Regions from separate parts of the Homo sapiens genome. Here regions 1, 2 and 3 are each linked to region 4. Evidence: promoter capture Hi-C in 16 types of primary human blood cells and fetal thymus (Javierre and others, 2016). All regions are on one chromosome and are shown on one strand. The core of a region is centred on a gene start or on the middle of the fragment in contact, and the rest is flanking DNA. Distances in the headings are between cores, read along the strand shown.

The links. The method cuts DNA at HindIII sites, captures the fragments that hold promoters and counts their contacts. A CHiCAGO score of 5 or more calls a contact.
Region 1: a fragment that was not itself captured here is called in contact with the fragment with the promoter of GPR87 in region 4 in 1 of 17 cell types (neutrophils); the score reaches 8.7 in neutrophils.
Region 2: a contact is called between a fragment that was not itself captured here and the fragment with the promoter of GPR87 in region 4, in 1 of 17 cell types (neutrophils). The highest score is 7.2, in neutrophils.
Region 3: a fragment that was not itself captured here is called in contact with the fragment with the promoter of GPR87 in region 4 in 1 of 17 cell types (neutrophils); the score reaches 6.2 in neutrophils.

What each region holds. Positions count from the first base shown.
Region 1 is chr3:151,854,465-151,857,164 of GRCh38, forward strand. The region is part of intron 1 of AADACL2-AS1 (AADACL2 antisense RNA 1); the gene reads right to left. Among named protein-coding and RNA genes, the nearest start is that of SUCNR1, 18 kb to the right of the region's middle. The HindIII fragment of the contact is 7,050 bases long and covers 1-2,700 here.
Region 2 is chr3:151,919,235-151,921,934 of GRCh38, forward strand. The region is part of intron 1 of AADACL2-AS1 (AADACL2 antisense RNA 1); the gene reads right to left. Among named protein-coding and RNA genes, the nearest start is that of AADACL2-AS1, 7.6 kb to the right of the region's middle. The HindIII fragment of the contact is 3,389 bases long and covers 1-2,700 here.
Region 3 is chr3:151,941,411-151,944,110 of GRCh38, forward strand. All of the region lies in intron 1 of LOC107986047 (a long non-coding RNA gene), which reads right to left. Among named protein-coding and RNA genes, the nearest start is that of AADACL2-AS1, 15 kb to the left of the region's middle. The HindIII fragment of the contact is 7,614 bases long and covers 1-2,700 here.
Region 4 is chr3:151,315,524-151,318,223 of GRCh38, forward strand. GPR87 (G protein-coupled receptor 87) reads right to left here and starts at 1,297. Exons shown (of 3, transcript NM_023915.4): 1 at 1,063-1,297. All of the region lies in intron 16 of MED12L (mediator complex subunit 12L), which reads left to right. RefSeq lists an enhancer at 683-1,882. The HindIII fragment of the contact is 4,276 bases long and covers 1,146-2,700 here.

The DNA.
Region 1 (2,700 bases), core at 7-2,506, 540 kb after region 4:
ATGCTGGCAGCTGACTAGATTGTGCCCACCCAGATTAAGGCCGTGTCTGCATTTCCCAGCCCACTGATTCAAATGTTAATCTCCTTTGGCAACACCCTCACAGACACACCCAGGATCAATACTTTGTATCCTTGAATCCAGTCAGATTGACATTCAGTATTAAGCATCACACTTAGGCAACCCCAACCCTATCTCTATCAAGTTTCAGAAAATTACTATCATCACCTCCCAAAAAGTTTTCTGGTGCCTCTTTCCAGTAAATCCCAGTGCCATGGCCACAGATCCAGCCTTTGCTCAAATGATTCCACAATAAATTTGTGTTTCTAGTAGTTAGTAGTTAGAAATCTTTTAATTTGCCCAGGTTTTCATCACAAATCAAAGTGTTGTTTGATAAAATACTGTTAAATTTCAATAATAGGAGCAATGTTGTAGTAGTTTATAGTCTAAAGCATTTCAAATGTCGTAAACTATCTGATTTGATACTCCCCTACCCCCACCAAGCAAATTTATTTTACAGATGAAGACCTGATTACAGATGAACATCTGAGGCTGGTAGAGGTGGAAAAACACATTTGAGTGCAGTCAGAACCTAATCCCAGATTTGAAGATTCTGAAGCCAATGCTCTTTTCTGTTATTTCATATAGTGTAGTGTTCTAATTTTATTTTATTATGAAATGAGAATGCACAGATTGGCCATAAAATATAGAAACATAGATAAAGTTTCTTTTTTTTTTAACAAAATGAACCTACTTATTTTTCTCCATAATGTGCCAAAAAAGAAATTTTACTCAGTAAAAATGAGACACATGACGTGAGCCAGCACATCGCAGACACATGTGCAGGTTTGATGGAAATACCGTGTGGATGGACGGTCTTCACGGTGGTTTTGCACAGCACCTTGACCTATGCATTGCTAGTGAGGCATAACGCACAGGACATGTCACTAATGTTATGAAACATGTCATGCATTACAAGGTGATATCAATAATGTATATATATATTTGAATCTGTTTCTAAGTTTCACAGAAATTCTATAGCATTTACACCTCTGACTATTAAGATTATATTAAGAGCAACTTTCCTTGCCATAATATAAATAATGTTTATAAGTGATTTTTATGAATACAAAATGATTTTACTTTACACGTATCAGTTATTTTCCTGTGTCAACCCAAATAAACCTCTAGAGATGTCTACCAGTGGCTAAATTTTGTATCTTTTGTAGAGCCAGGGTTTCGCCATGTTGCTGGGGCTGGTCTCCAACTCCTGGCCTCAAGCAATCCGCCCACCTCTGCCTTCCAAAGTGCTGAGATTACAGGCAAGAGCCACTGTGCCTGGCAAAATTTGATTAATACTGATTTTAGTTTAAAACATGGTAGAAATGAAGTATATAAATGTCGACTTTGGCTTACAAGTAAATTTAATAAGCTACTTCTCATTCAGCATCTGATTGGAAGAGGTGATGCACCTTCCCCATAGATCTGTGATTATTTTACTTTACACAGAGCATTGGGCAAATATAAATTTCTCTGCAACTTCAAGAAATACCACTAGATGAGGATGAAGAAATTGCATCATATAAATCCCCAAGAGAAGGATAACAGAAATGGAGAAAAAGAGATCTACATGGTTTTGGAATATAGTAAGACTTGAGAAAGCTGAAACAGCACATGCCTATTAACGGCTAGAAAACATGGCCATAGAAAAACCAGATTGTCTTAGGAGTTTGATATGCAAGGTTTTTTGAAACTCAGTGGTATTCAGACAGTGGGTAAGCTACTTAGGAAAAATCAATCAATGCTGTTAACTGTTGGCTTGGTTCCAATATTTTGCCGAAATGGGCATATCTGATGCCATGGTATTTAAAAGCAAGCAGTGCAAGTAGCCTGGAGCTGTGGTGATTCAGCACATACATTCTCAGTTAATTTTCTGTTATCTGTCTTTCATGGGCCTGTTGTCACCAAGACCGGTGACCACTTATTTATTTTAATTTATCCTGAAAATTCATATCCAGTCTTCTGTAAATTTAATACCTTATGAATGTTTTCATCAAATCCCTCTGTCTTTACACCCCGCCCCCTCCACCTAACCATTGTTTCTGTGTGTGTCCGTGTCCTGATCACCTCTTCTTATAAATACTACAGTCACATTGGATTAGGGCATACCCTAGTGACCTCATTTTAACTTAGTTTTTTCTTTAAAGATTCGCTCTCCAAATGCAATCACATTCTGATGTACTGGGGATTAAGAATTCAGCATGTGAATTTGGTGGTGGTGGTGAATTCAGCCCCTAAAAGGAAGAAAAGATAATCAATTCACCAATGAAAGTAGGTGTATTTCCACACATAAAGGCCCTACTAAGTGCCCAGCACATTCAATAAAAAATACTTACCCTAAGGTATATTAACACCAAACTTAAAACCAGTAGGGGAAGAGAAACTAGATGCAAGGTGCAAAAATTATTGCTTGTAAAAGACCGAATGGCACTGAATTTTTTTAATTATTATTAGAGATGAGGGTCTTACTATGTTGCCCAGGCTGTTGTCTTTTTTGTTTTGTTTTTTGACACAGAGTCTCCCTCTGACTCAAACTCCTAGGCTCAAGTGATACTACTGCCTCCCAAGTAGCTGAGACTATAGGCATGGACCACTGCACCCAACATGGCATTGAACTTAGCAAAGGTTTGAGAGCTTAAATAC
Region 2 (2,700 bases), core at 102-2,601, 600 kb after region 4:
TTCCACCATGATTGTGAGGCTCCCCAGCTATGCTGAACTGTCAGTCCATTGAAGCTCTTTCCTTTATAAATTACCCAGTCTAAGGTATGTCTTTATTAGCAGTGTGAGAACAAACTAATACACCTTGAGTCTCAGTCATGCTCTCCTCCACCAGCCCATAGTTTAAGAGATTACTTGCAGTTTCTGCTCTTGGCACATTTACTCCTCACCATTGTGGGCCATTCCAGGCCTGCTGGTTCTTGGCTCTCATCAGCCTTCTTCAGCACCCCCAGGGAAGCACAAAAACATGTCTATATATGTTCACACCAAAAGACAGCCCATGTTGGTGCAAGGTTTCTATCCTGAGCTTTCCTTTTGCTGAAACCTCCTACTGTTCACATGTTCGCTGATCAGAGTCCCCTGGAAGTCTTGTCAACACACGTTTCTGGGCCTATACCCAGAGTTTCTGATTCAGTAGCTCTGGGTGAGTTCCAATGACTTGATGTTCTAGCAGGTTCCCAGATGACGATGCTACTGGTTCTGGGACCACTTTTTAAGAACCACTGGCCTAAACCAGTACTTCCTCCAATTGTTCACATAGAGTTACATGTAAAATATAATAAAATAGCTCATATTTTTGGACCACAGTTGACCATGAGTAACTGAAACAACAAAAAGTGAAACAAGGAATAAGTGGGGACTACTGTAGATGGTTCAAATTTTTCTAATGTGTAGAAAAAAACATAGAGTAACGAGTTTCTCTTTCATAGACAACTATGGGCACATTTTTGAGCGCACATAAGTTTGTTCAAACAAGTTGGGTAAATACCTAGGAATGTGATTGCTGATTGTAGAGTAAGAAAATATATATGTGTTTTGTATATACATATAACACATCTTTCTCCATGTTTTTGTCTTCTTTATTTTATTTGTTGATATTTTGTCATTTCCTACACACATTTTCTATACATATTATATTAGATTTATATCTGTGTAGTTGAGCTACTGTAAATGGTATGGACTCTTTTTCTAATTTTAATGTTTAGTTGTTTATTGCTGGTATATAAGAAATCAATTGACTTTCAACCTTCTATCCTGTGACCCTTTTATATACACTTATCAATTACAGGAATTTATTGTCATTTCATTGGTATTTTAAAATAGAAAATTATATCATTTGTGAATATAGACAGTTTTATCTCTTTCCTTCTGATTGGTGTCCTTATAAGAAGAGGAAATTCAAACACACAGAGATACTAAGGATGCACACAGACAGAGGAAAAAATCACGTGAGGACACAGCAAGAAGGTGGCCATCTGCGAGTCATGGCGACAAGCCTAAGAAGAAGAAAAACCTGAAGGCACCTTGAGCCTGGACTTCTAACCTCCAGAGCGAAATAAAATTCCCTTGTTTAAACTACCCAGCCTATGGTACTATGTTATGGCAGCCCTAGCTAACAAATATAGAACCCTTAACATATTTATCATAGGTATTTTAAATTTTCTGTCTGAAATTCGAACATCTGTGTTACATTTGAGTCTGGGTCTTATGATTGCTTTGTCTCTTCAGACTGTGTATGTGTGAGTGTGTATATGTGCGCACATGCGTACACGCATGTTTTGCCTTTTTGTACATCTTGTAGTTTTTGCTGAAAGCCAAACATGTTGCATTGGGTAATTATTTTGCTGAAAGCCAAACATGTTGCATTGGGTAATTATAACTGAGATAAACTGTCCTTTACTGTCAGGATTTACATTAATCTGGCTGGAATCTAGGCTGTGTTTAATCTCAGCTGTAGCTGTGGGTGCCAGAGGCTTCATGTTCTTCTAGTCTCCTTGCTTTTGTCTTCTTTCTTGACTTTAGGATTCCCTAAGTACTCCTCCTCACAGAGAGTCTGCATCTTGCAGCTCTTTCCGATGTAATCCAGTGTTACTATATTGCAGTCCTGCTGGTGTGGTGGTAAAGTGTCAGTGAGGGGATGCCTTCTATATACTTAGGATGAAAACGCACACTTTTAGTCAGCCTGTGTCTGTGGGCTGTGACTTTCATAAGCATTTCTCCGGTTGTATAGTTTTTGTACCCTCTTAGTTGGGGCAGAAACACTAGAGGGAACTAAAGTGGGAGGAATGCTTTTTTCCAGCTTGGATAAGGCTCAGGTAAAGTCCTTTTATCTGCAGCGTAGTCCATTATGGAGGAGGCTGTGGGTATATTTTACATTGACTAGTTTTTCTTTCCCCTGCTAGTGCCACAAGGGAAACTTTCATGAATATTTACCATGAGAACCTGGAGGGGTTCCCAGAGGTAAAAACCCATAAAATTGTTGAAGCCTCTCTAAGATTGGGACCTCTAGGAGTTTTTTGCTCTCAAATAATCCATACTCAACCTCTAGGAATTTGTTAAAATTAATATTTTAGTTTTTCTGCCAGCTTATGGTGCTAATGGCTTCTGCTCCAGATAAGTTGCTCCACTGTGACTGTCTGGATTCACGTATGTATTCTTTTTCTACTGACCACTATAGCAAATTACTACAAACTTGGTGTCTTAAAACAACACAAATATATTATCTTAAAATTCTAGAAGTCAGAAGTCTGAAATCGTTTACATCAAGCTAAAATCAATTAGTCAGCAGGGCTATGTTCCTTCTGGATGCTCTAAGGGAGAATTCATTTTCTTGCGTTTTCCATGCATTAATATAAGGCCAAGCACTTTTCAAACTGGTAT
Region 3 (2,700 bases), core at 200-2,699, 630 kb after region 4:
GCTTTTGACTCCTGTACCAAACTATAATTCACTTCTAACCTATAAACCCAGATAGAGAGTAGTGGAATGAAGGAGAGCTTTCTAATATCATATAAATCTATAAAATAGAGAGTCTTTGGTAGGAGCAAATACACATCATAAAATTATGTCCTCTACCTTTAGCAGCTGGGAAACATTACACACTACCACAATTCAATGGTGCCCTTTTAATTGCACATGCTTAAACAAAATACCGCATTATAATTACATTTGGCATTTCAAAGAGTCAAGAGTTCAAAACTGGAATGTGTTAGAATGAGAAAAATTATAACCAAATATCCCACATCAGGATGCAGCTTTTTGGACAAGCACAGTAATTCAGTTTCGGTATTTCATAAAAAGTGGTTTATTTCACTTTGCAATTTTCCATTTATTAGAAAATATCATTCATACAAAACAATATATAAATGCATATATTGACTTAAATAATTTTAGTAAATGATGCACCTATGTGTCCACTGCTGAGGTTAAGAAATAGAGACTGGCCAGTTTTTTCCAAATCCTCTATACATCTTCCCAATTATATCACCTTCCCATCCTACAAACAGAGGTTTTCGTCATTTTGACTTTTATAATAATCATCCCACGTTCTTTCGGCTTTAAATGATTTTACCACTTATGGATATATTTCTCCTATTTTTGAACCTTATGAATATGAATTCCTACACTATAATGTCTATGTCTTACTTATTTCATTCAATATGAGGTTTGGGTAGATTCACTGGGCAAAGCTCACATGTAACTGTCTCTCATTCAGTTTCCCTGCTGAACAGTGTTCCACCTTAAAACCAGTCTACAATGTATTTTCCATTCTACCATTGTCGGACATTTTGGTTATTTCCTGTAATATGTTATTAATTTTTATACATTTATTCCAGGAGTGAAATCCTTAGATCATATATTATGAGCATATTCAAACTTCCTATGAAATGTTGATCTATTTTTTAAATGTTTGGGCCAATTTATACATCATACCACCAATATTCATAAGTTCCTGTTGCTCCACATATATGCCAACATGACAGTGTCAGATTTAGTTTTTCACCTAAAGATTGGGTAAGACATGGTAACTCTTGTGGTTCTAACTTGCTTTTTTATTGCTAGTGAAGTTAGGCATCTTCTCATATTCCATAGTTTGAATGTAAGTGAGTAGAGTACAATGAGATATTTTGAGAGAGAGAAAGAGACCACATTCACCTAACTTGTATTACAGCATAACATTTAATTATTCTATTTTATTATTAGTTATTGTTGTGAATATATTACCCTGCCTACTTTGTAAATTAAACTTTATCATAGGTATGTATTTATGGGAGGGAAACATAGTGTGTACACACACACACACACACACACACACACACGGTTTAGTAGCATCCTCAGTTTCAGTCGTCCACTAGGGATCTTGGAACATATCCCCTGAGGATAAGGGGGAGACCACTGTATTGAGAATTTTGTGTTTCTTTTGAATTGTTAAACATGTTAGTCTTTGTCTTGCTTTTTTGTTCTGGATACTTCTTTTTTAGGAACTTTTAAGTATAAAATCAGCTTCTTTAATAGACAGAGGACTAGTTGAGTTGCCTATTTATCTTGAAATTCTCTGTTATTATTCTTTTGATATCTTTGGATTTTGTAACGAAATCCTCTCTCTCTTTCCTAGTATTGGTAATTTACATCCTCTATTTTTTTCTTTGTTAATCATTGTAGATATTTATTAAGTTTATTGGTCTTGCTTTTTTTTTTTTTAAAGCACAATTTAAAAAATTTGTTCATTGGCCAGGCGCGGTGGCTCACGCCTGTAATCCCAGCACTTTGGGAGGCGGAGGTGGACAGATCACGAGGTCAGGAGATCGAGACCATCCTGGCTAACACGGTGAAACCCCGTCTCTACTAAAAATACAAAAAATTAGCCAGGCGTGGTGGCGCCGCCTGTAGTCCCAGCTACTCAGGAAGCTGAGGCAGGAGAATGGCGTGAACCCTGGAGGCGGAGCTTGCAGTGAGTTGAGGCCTGGCCACTGCTCTCCAGCCTGGGGGACAGAGAGAGACTCCGTCTCAAAAAAAAAAAAAAAAAAAAAAGAAAAGAAAAGAAAAAGAAAAATTTGTTTATTGTTTTCTGTTTTCAATTTTAACAATTTCTGTTCTTATATGTATTACAAGATGCATTGCTTAACGACAGGGATATGCTCTGAGAAATGCATTGTTAGGCAATTTTGTTGTACAAACATCAGAGTGTATTTACACAAACCTAGATGGTATGACCTCCTGCACATCTGATATAGCACTAGGCTATATGGTATGCCTATTGCTGCTAGGCTACAAACCTATACAGTATGTTGCTCTACTGAATACTGCAGGCAACCACAACAGAATGGCACTTGTGTATCTATGTTTAGATACACAGATATAGCAAAGTTCATGCAATGCACTGGGACCTACAATGTCAACTAGGTGATAGGAATTTTCCTGCTCCATTATAATCTTTTGGGACTACTGTCGTACATGCAGTCCATCATTGACCAAAATACTGTTGTGACACATAACTGTATTTTCTTCTGCTTCTTATTTTACTATTGTTTTTATAGTTTCTTATACCGGAAATTGAGATTACAGAGACTTTCCTCCTTTTATAATGTATGTATTTACTGTTACACATCTTCCCTTTGT
Region 4 (2,700 bases), core at 47-2,546:
GTCCTTAACCCATGTATACCTGCAACACATTTCAAGTAGAGGTCAGAAACAAGAGTCTGAGGATGAGATGTTGCTGAAGGATTAAGAGAATATGCCTCTTTGATCCCTAACTTCATGGAGACAGTTAATCTCAATTGGCAGAAATAATAAATATCAACAGGGTGTCTGGCTTTTTTCCCCCCAGTATAAAGTAATATAGAACCAGATTTGTTGCTGTTCATATTGCTAGTAAATTGGAGAACAATTATGAAAGAAATCTCTTGTTAAAAATGTTAATATACCTAAAATAAAAGCAGATTCAACTTGAGAATGTGATGTAAAATTCCATAGCAGATAAATCTTAAAATAAGAAATCAAAAAGTCACTCTACTTTAGGCTCATCTATCTTTTAAAAGTCCTTATTAAAATTTAAAAGAACTGAGATCTCCATGCTTGCTTCTTGTTTTCCTCATTGCAGTGAAAACTTCCCAAACAGTTTGAATGTGGAACAACAGTAAGCTGTTCCTAACCTGTTTGTCAGTCACTGGGCAGTTTTCTCAGTGCCTTTCCTGACATGTTTTAACATGACTTCTCCAGGGATCAGAATGAGGATTGCCCTGTTCTTTGTGGTACAATGAAAAGACTGAGATTATTTTATCAAAATGAGACAGTTGGGAAAGAGAAAAATCTTTGTCTCTCTCTTTAAAAAAAAACAATACGGATAAACGATTATGAAACAAATTTTAAGTTTTGGGTCCTGGGAAACAATTATAAGAGACTTTGACTTTTACTCATCTAATAAAGTAAATGTGGTTTAAAAAAAAATGTACTAAATAGGAGTGATTGCCAAAACATTGTTTCTACTTTTGAAGGCACAATATGTAGTTTATATTTCTGCCTGCCTGAGCTGGAAACAGTTGAAGCTTCATGGCTCACAGTGGTGCCTCATATCTTACTGTCAGCATTCTAATTTCTAGTTTTTCTTCAAACCTCAGAGTTAAGCAGAAGTATAATTACAGTTTTTAATCATTGCTGTGTCTTATCAACCACGGCTTTTAAGAAAATGAAAAATTTTTCGTTTACCTTTCATTGTGGTGGCTGGCTGTCCATTCACCTCATACGGTGTCTTCAAGTTGAAACAGGTTTCTTGTCTCTAATTAAGAATAAGCTTTGAAACTAAGGTCGGCAGGGAAGTGGATTTTCTGGTAAAGCATGAAAACGAAACATCTCCCCTACCAGACAAGGTAGGTATCTCCCTTACCCCTTTAGAGATTGTCCTTTGGGGCACCCTTTCAAATTCTCCTGCCAGGCGACTACTGGAACAACTTGCTCTCTTGCTAATGTAAATGACTCATAACTAAGAGTAGGTGAGATTTGTCGACTGGGGAAGAGTATTTCCTGAACCTGCAGGAATCAGATGGTGATTCACCTGAAGGAAACACAGAGGGCTGGAGCTTAGACTGCCAGAAGTCTGCTTAAGGAGTGGGGGATGAAGTCTCGGGTTGGGGCCTACTAACTCATCAGATCCAATTTTTAGGTCATTTTTTTTTTCCAGCCTCCTATTGCTATCTAGAAAACATGTATTTGCAGCCTTCCTGCCAATTAAATTTTGGATTAAAAGAAATAAGAATATGCTTTATGACAGATGAATTCTTTGAAAATATTATTCTACATATTATTTAAAGAGTATTGTTGTAATTGATAACTTTGGAAACTTGTAGTCTTATGAAACTAATGAAATCTGTAGACATATTTTTACACATACACAATAGACATATTTTTACACATACACAATGATAAGTATTCAAAATATGTTAAATTATTCAGGGGCTGGGTTCACTGACTCCTTTGAATGCTGACCTTTAACATAAAACAATTTATTTTATTGCTTTAAAAAAGCATCCAACAATGACAAATTTATATAATCATATCACTTTTTTTTTTTTTTTTTTTTTTTTTTTTTTGTGAGACGGAGTCTCACACTGTTGCCCGGGCTGGTATGCAGTGGCATGATCTCAGCTTGCTGCAACCTCCACCTCCCGGATTCAAGTGATTCTCCTGCCTCAGCCTCCTGAGTAGGTAGGATTACAGGTGCCCACGACTACACCCGGCTAATTTTTTGTATTTTTAGTAGAGACGGGGTTTCTCTATGTTGGCCAGGCTGGTCCTGAACTCCTGACCTCATGATCCGCCCGCCTCAGCCTCCCAAAGTGCTGGGATTACATGTGTGAGCCACTGCGCCCGGCCACTTTTTCTGATTTGTAAATAATTTTCTTGCTTTCAGATGAGAATCTCAAAGATTCTGATATTTTCTTGAATGCAACATTTAAATACATTTAAAAAAATAAAATTTCATCAAATGGAATCAAAACCTGTTATTGTGGATGAAGATAAATGAAAATAATCAAAGGTGAAAACTTTTTTGGAGTGAATAAATCTATAATAGGTATTACTTAGTGTTTACTTGTGTCTTAAGGAAATAATGTGTACGTACTAGTTGATTTTCCTTATGTTTTTACAGAAAAACAAATGGGTGTTTAACTTAAAAATCAAGAGTTGGGTATCAAAATTATATTTTTTGTATTTTCCTATCTGCTTCCTAACCATACAAAAACAGACACCTACAATTTTAATTTTTTTTTTTTTTACATTCTGCTTTGGGTGGATTAAGTATGTTACGGAAAAGTAGCTAGTCCTGGGGAAGGTGTTTGAATAACAATT